2 separate regions of the Homo sapiens genome follow, and region 1 is linked to region 2. The links are contacts of gene promoters, found by promoter capture Hi-C in human tissues and cell types (Jung and others, 2019). All regions are on one chromosome and are shown on one strand. The core of a region is centred on a gene start or on the middle of the fragment in contact, and the rest is flanking DNA. Distances in the headings are between cores, read along the strand shown.

Evidence for each region. The method cuts DNA at HindIII sites, captures the fragments that hold promoters and counts their contacts. A contact is called where the count stands out against the background at its distance.
Region 1: a contact is called between a fragment that was not itself captured here and the fragment with the promoter of SCMH1 in region 2, in 1 of the 25 tissues and cell types used here (fat).

The regions. Positions count from the first base shown.
Region 1 is chr1:40,980,756-40,984,095 of GRCh38, reverse strand. CTPS1 (CTP synthase 1) reads right to left here. Exons shown (of 19, transcript NM_001905.4): 2 at 640-818. The coding sequence starts at 805. Among named protein-coding and RNA genes, the nearest start is that of CTPS1, 2.7 kb to the right of the region's middle. The HindIII fragment of the contact is 3,158 bases long and covers 384-3,340 here.
Region 2 is chr1:41,240,829-41,243,775 of GRCh38, reverse strand. SCMH1 (Scm polycomb group protein homolog 1) reads left to right here and starts at 1,470. Exons shown (of 16, transcript NM_001394311.1): 1 at 1,470-1,717. SCMH1-DT (SCMH1 divergent transcript) reads right to left here and starts at 1,418. Exons shown (of 3, transcript NR_186015.1): 1 at 1,070-1,418. RefSeq lists silencers at 1,160-1,559, 1,600-2,149, 2,250-2,409 and an enhancer at 2,730-2,909. The HindIII fragment of the contact is 24,810 bases long and covers 1-2,947 here.

The DNA of each region.
Region 1 (3,340 bases), core at 713-3,212, 260 kb after region 2:
TAGTGACATTTAATGCTTGCATATTTTCACCTCAACGCTAGAGAGTAGGAGTACGAATGCAGAATTTTAAAACTTAAGAGGTATGTTTTAACATCTCTCCCAGTTTTAAGCAATTAATCTTTGAAGTAACAGCCACAGCTGTATGTCACACCATTGACAGGTTCTCAATAACAACAAAGAAGTAAAAGGCAGTCGGGCATGGTGGCTCACACCTATAAAACCCAGCACTTTGGGATTACAGGTGGGAGGACCCAAGACCAGCCTGGACAACACAGTGGAACCCCACCTGTACAAAAAATTTAGAAATTAGCCAGGCATGGTGATTTACACCTGTAGTCCCAGCTACTCAGGAGGCTGAGGTGAGAGGATCGCTTGAGCCAAGGAGGTGGAAGCTGCAGCGAGCCATGATCACACCACTACACTCCAGCCTGAGGGACAGAGTGGGATCCTGTCTCAAAGAAAAAAAAAAAAAAAAAGAATTCTGCTTCTTCCTTTCTAGGTGAGAAAAGTATCATTCTGCTGTATTAAGGGACCTGTTAGAAGGCAGAAAATAAAAGTTATGCAAACCGTGCACATAATTCCCAAGTGCTGACATGTTCTGCCACATGCAATTATTATGAAGAAATCCACTGTGCTTACCATGCTCATAAGGAGAGAATGTTCCTGCATCAATGTTAATGTAGGGGTCAATTTTGATTGAAGTTACATGTAAACCACATGACTTGAGTATTGTGCCCACACTGCTGGCAATGATTCCTTTTCCAATTCCTGATATAACACCACCAGTAACCAGAATGTACTTCATTTTACTCTTTGACCTGGAAGAAGGAAAAATTACAGATGATATAAATGTATCTCAACAAACCAAACTCATCTGGGTTCAAACACTGGCTCTGCCAATTATTAGCTATGAACCCTCTTGAAGCCTCAGTTTCTCTGTCACAGGACTTCAGAAGGTTCTCGTCAGGTTTAAATAGGATCAAAACAAACATTTCTTGGATCACTGAATGGCTTTAGTCAAATACGTGTAGAAAAACAACTGCTACTCTAATAACACAGCTTTTGTTTAAAGCTTTGACAACTAATAACCTTCAGAGTCAACCTAATAAAACCAGCTCTAAGCTGGCTGATAGAACACTACACCCCAAATGTTTGCTGACATCACTGCCAGACACTGGGATACCAGGCAGGTGCCTCATTATTTTCCCTACATGGGAAAAAAATTCAAACTTGGATAAGTACTCCAGTTCTCCAGGAAATAAATAATGTCTTTGGCTAAACTACAACATATCATCAAGAAAACACAGCTCCTCTAGGTTACAAAAGATAGACTAAAAGGAAAGAACATCAACATTTAAAAGTGGTTGCAGCTAAACCAAAATTCCTTTAATTAAAAGTAGTTCTCTGGCTGGGCATGGTGGCTCATGCCTGTAATCCCAGCACTTTGGGAGGCAGAGCCAGGAGGATCACTTGAGGTCAGGAGTTCGAGACCAGCCTGGCCAATATGGGGAAACCGCATCTCTACTAAAAATACAAAAATTAGCCGGCTGTGATGGCGCACGCCTGTAGTCCCAGTTACTCAGGAGACTGAGGCAGGAGAATCGCTTGAACCCAGGAGACAGAGGTTGCAGTGAGCTGGGATCATGCCACTGCACTCCAGCGTGCGCGACAGAATAAGACTACCTCAAAAAAAAAGAAAAAGTAGTTCTCTTCTATAATTTAACAACAACTTGCTCCTTGTCAGAAATCTCTCCCAGGCATGCAATGAAGAGAGACTGTAAATACTGGGGGAGAGGGACATCAGATAAGAAACCAGTCTGAAGCACATGACGGGCAGAGGACTCAAAGAGAGGGGAGATGAGATTAAATCCAAAAAGCAGTGCCACGGTGGCAGGGAAAGGAGAAATAAGATATAAGGGCAGCAGAGTCAAGATGCAGGTGAAAACAGCATCGACAAGAGGTGAGGAGACCGTGACAGGCTCACCACGGAGGATTTATCACTGGTCCCCAGCTTCAGAGGTCCAGGATCGTCCATTTGGTCAGCAAACCCAAATGTGACCAAAATGAAAAACACAATTAGAAAGTAGCAGAAAATGCTTACTTTGGCATGGTCAGGACATTTTCCTCCTCAGGAACGTTCCATGTGAAGCCAAATTATGATAAAAATAAACTAAGGAACAAGAAAACTAAGGAGTTGTGCTCGAAGCATTCCCCCGCCCCACCCCCTCCCCAGAGCAAGAAAGAACACACTTGGCAGGGAAGGAAGAATGCTCAGAAGTCTTCCCCGCTCCAAAGGCTCTTTGCATCCTCTGCTGCAGCATTTCCAAAAGCATGCTCCCTGGTTTCAACAAAATGCACATGGGATTCTCAAAAAGGGTGTTATGGATATAAATCAGAGAAACGCTGATTAAACCAAGTCATTTAACGCAAGAATCCTGGGAGTGTTTAGCAAGTAAACTCGCACTGTGATCACTGCTATACAGTATGCGGTGTCTCCAAGCTTATCTGACCCTAAGTCTCTCACTTTACAGTTCCTTATTGACACATGAAAATCAGTCTTAGGTACATTTTAGATATGTTCTAACCAGACATATACCTTACTGAGACTATACCCTGGTCTCCCTAAGTTTTGGATGATCCTAGAAATTCCTCTGCCACCGAGTGAGTTACTTCTACAAAAGATTCATCTCATCCAATTACATTTGATTTGTCCCAATTTTACTCTAAGAGTTTAACATCTCTCTTTACGTTCTTTAGTTTCTCTCTTTAGATTCTTGCAGTCTCAGTGCCTGGCAATACATATGCCAGTGTACATAAAGATCAGGCGGGAGGCTCATTCATTCATCCTTATGGGCTACTGACTTACATGACAGCTACTGTGCTTGGGGACTGCAAACATTAATCAGATTTGGGCCCATATCTCAACTTTCTGGCAGTCCAGTTGGAGAGATGAAACATTAACAAATAAATGAGTAATTCAGTGACGGTGGAAGCAGACAGAAAACATGTTTAGACTATAAAGGGGGACGATGAGAGCAGACGCTTTCAGTACCATGGCCATCAGAGGAAGGTGAGACAAGTCCTGGGGGTAGTGGGCGGATCCAGGCGGCTCCTGTTTTGTAGATATGACTTGCAATGGGCCTTGAAGGACTGACTGCACGACTCAGAGCACAGGAAAGGGAACAGGGTGAACAGGCAGGTGCAGGGCAGCTACAGAGAACAGAGGTAAGGCCGTGAGGGGGAAGGCGGGGAAGCAGGGATATACAGTGGAAGATAAACTGGAAAGGTAGGCAAGGGCCAGATCATGTGCAAACTGGCATGCCCAATCTGAACTTAATCC
Region 2 (2,947 bases), core at 221-2,720:
GTGGAGGTGCTAGACATCTTGATTTCAGCCTATGACACCACGAGCAGAAAACCCAGCCACACCATGCCAGTTTTCCGACCTACACAACTGTGAGTAAATCAATGGGTGTTGCTTTAAGCTGCAAAATTTGTGCCAATTTGTTATGCAGGAATAGAAAACTAATATGAGCACTTACAACACTGTGCTCTCATTAGCTATTGACATAATAGTTTCCCCAAATATGGGCTCCTTAGATTTAGGCTCTAATTATCCTTGTAACCTCAGGGCTCTTCATGAGACAGGTACTCCCCAAAACGCCATGGAATGAAAGTTTAAATTAGACAACAGGGATGCAGATCAGAACCTGGATAGATTCTGACCATTTCCATTTCTCAAGAATGGGCAGACGGATACTGACACCAATACCAGGATACAAGGAGGCGGCCCCCCTTCAGTCCAAAGCTCTAAGACCTATTCTAGAGGCAAGGCAAGTAATCCAGGCTCAGCTGCCCCATCTGCTGCTCCAGCCTTGCTTAAGTGGACTTCCCTCCAAGGAACATTGTTCACAGAAGGATCATTAACAAGACATTCCTGTGTGACCTGAGGATTGCCATGTTCTAAATGATGCCCACACCCACTCCACATCCAGCTCAGCAGAGGTCTCGGGATTTATATTGCACTGTATTTTCAAGCAGCCAAAACAGAAGTCAAGACGTCAGTTTCCTAAGCTGCTAAAATGATGTGGTGGTTAAACCAATTGTGTGCCAGGCGCAGTGGCTCACGCCTGTAGTCCCAGCGCTTTGGGAGGCTGACGCAGGAGGATCACTTGAGCCCAGTAATTTGAGGTTACAGTGAGCTATGATGGCGCCACTGCACTCCGACCTTGGGGACAAAGTGAGGCTCCATCTCTAACAAAACAAAAATAGAATTGTGTAGCCAACATGGCTGGTGGGCCTGGAAGAATGAGCCTGTGCATTGTACCTGGCCCATCACGGGCTCAGTGCGTACTCGTTGAAGGGATCACCACAGGGAGGACCGAGGACGCTGACACTCCCTAGGGCATCCAAGCACCAACTCATCTCTCACCTACCCTCCGGGTGCAGTGCTATCGTGTTGGAGAAGAGGCCCCTGGGTGGCTGTGCGAAGTAACTCGCCCAAGGTCACCACACGGCCAGCCACTAGCCCGGCGGGAGTCGCCCGAGGCGAGGCCCACGTCAGCCGGTCTTGGGGGCCCGACCGGTGGCTCCTCCACCAGCCCCACGCGGCCTCAGAGCGGGCTACTGGCGTCCTCGAGATTCGAACCCGAGTCCTCGGCCTCGTCCCCGCCCTCGCGCCCTCTCAGGCCTCAGTTTTCCCATCTACAGGACGCAGACCGGAGAGCTGGTCCGGGCGCCAACTGGGCCCCCGGACCCGGGTCGGCAGGCCGGCGGGGTACGGCCGGGCCGGGTTCCCGCGCGCCCTCCCTCCTCCAGCGCGCCGCCCCGCCCCCCGCGCGAGCCCAACGGCCGAGGCGCGCGCCACCTCGCAGCGGGAGGCGCGGGGGAGGGGCCGGGGGAGCCCCCGCCCCGCCCCCCGCCTCAGCCGCCACCGCCAGCTCGGTGGAGCCCCCCGCCGCCCGCCCGCCGCTCTCCCGAGCCGCCCGCCCGCCCCCTTCCCGCGTCTCCGCTCCCTCCCTGCGCAGCGGAAACATGGCGGCGGGAAGAGAGTGAGCCGCCCCGCGCCCCCGCCGCGCCCTCAGGTAAGCGCCTCGCGGCCGCCTCCGCCCGCCTAAGAGCTCGTGCCCTGAGGGGCCGCCTGGGGCCAGAAGGCGGTGGCGGGACCTGCGCAGCCGCTGCGCCTGCTCCCCCGGGCCGGGGTCAGCCTGTCCGTCTGTCTGGCCGGCCTGCCAGTCTGTGGTCCGCGCGGGGCTGGGCCCTTTCTCGGCCGTGTCAGCCCGGCCCCGAGCCCGGAGGCCGGCTCTGCATCTGCGGTCGGGCGGGCGGGGCCCACGGTCCGGTCGCGGCCCTGACGCCGCCAGGACTGCCCGGGGGCCCCGGCACGGGAAACCCAAGGCCGGGGGCCCTTTGGAGGGTCGGCGTGGGGGCGGTCCGTATAGGTCGCCGTGTCTGGCCGGCGGGGCCGGGTGGGCCGGGGCAGGCTGGCTGGGGGCCGAGGGCCGGGCGGCGGCGCGACCCCGTCTGCGCGGGTCAGTCGGTCCCCTCCGGCGCCAGAGGTGGGAATGCCTGTGATTCTGGCTGGCCGGGTCCCGGTTCGGGGAAGGCAGAGACAGAGGTCGACGGGGCGGCGTGGCCCCCACCGAGAGCTGGGGCGCCTAGGGCCCGGAGCTGTCAGCAGCGTCCTGGGGGCTGGGCCCCGGCTGGCCGACTCACGTGTGCCGCCTGCCCCAGTGCCCCGCCGGAAACGGGCAGGGAGAGCGGCCCCGCACCGAAGTGAGCCACAGCGGCCCTGGGGGCCAGACACGTGGGCACAGTTGTGTGCCAGCCCGAGAGCATCGAAAGTGGTATCCAGCCGATGGGTGAACCCCGGAATATCTCCTGACTGGAAGAGAATTTAAAAGTCATCTAGGGGCGCTTTCTCCCATCCCATGCCAAAGTGACTTTGAAAATCCCCAAATCCCCCCGATAATTTGACGAGCCCGTTTGGAACCTCTTCCAGTGATCCGAAGCGAATCTCTTTAAAGGAAACCCATTCTGTTCCTGGACACATTTGGTTATAAGTTGAAAGAAACAGCTGGCTCCCATCCTTCCTAGTTCTTTTCCCTTATGGGAAGCTGTTAAGATATCTGAAGATAGTAATCATGTCCCCTGAGTCTTCACTTCCACTTTCTTCAGTTGTCTCTCATCTGCTGTGGTTCTCTAAACTGTCCTCTGGATGAGCTTTAGTTTCCCCCATCCCCTTAAAGGAGAGTTTCTTAAAAGTGATCCTGGAGACAAAACGTAGTAAGTTTCTCTAAGAAACAGCCCCAAGG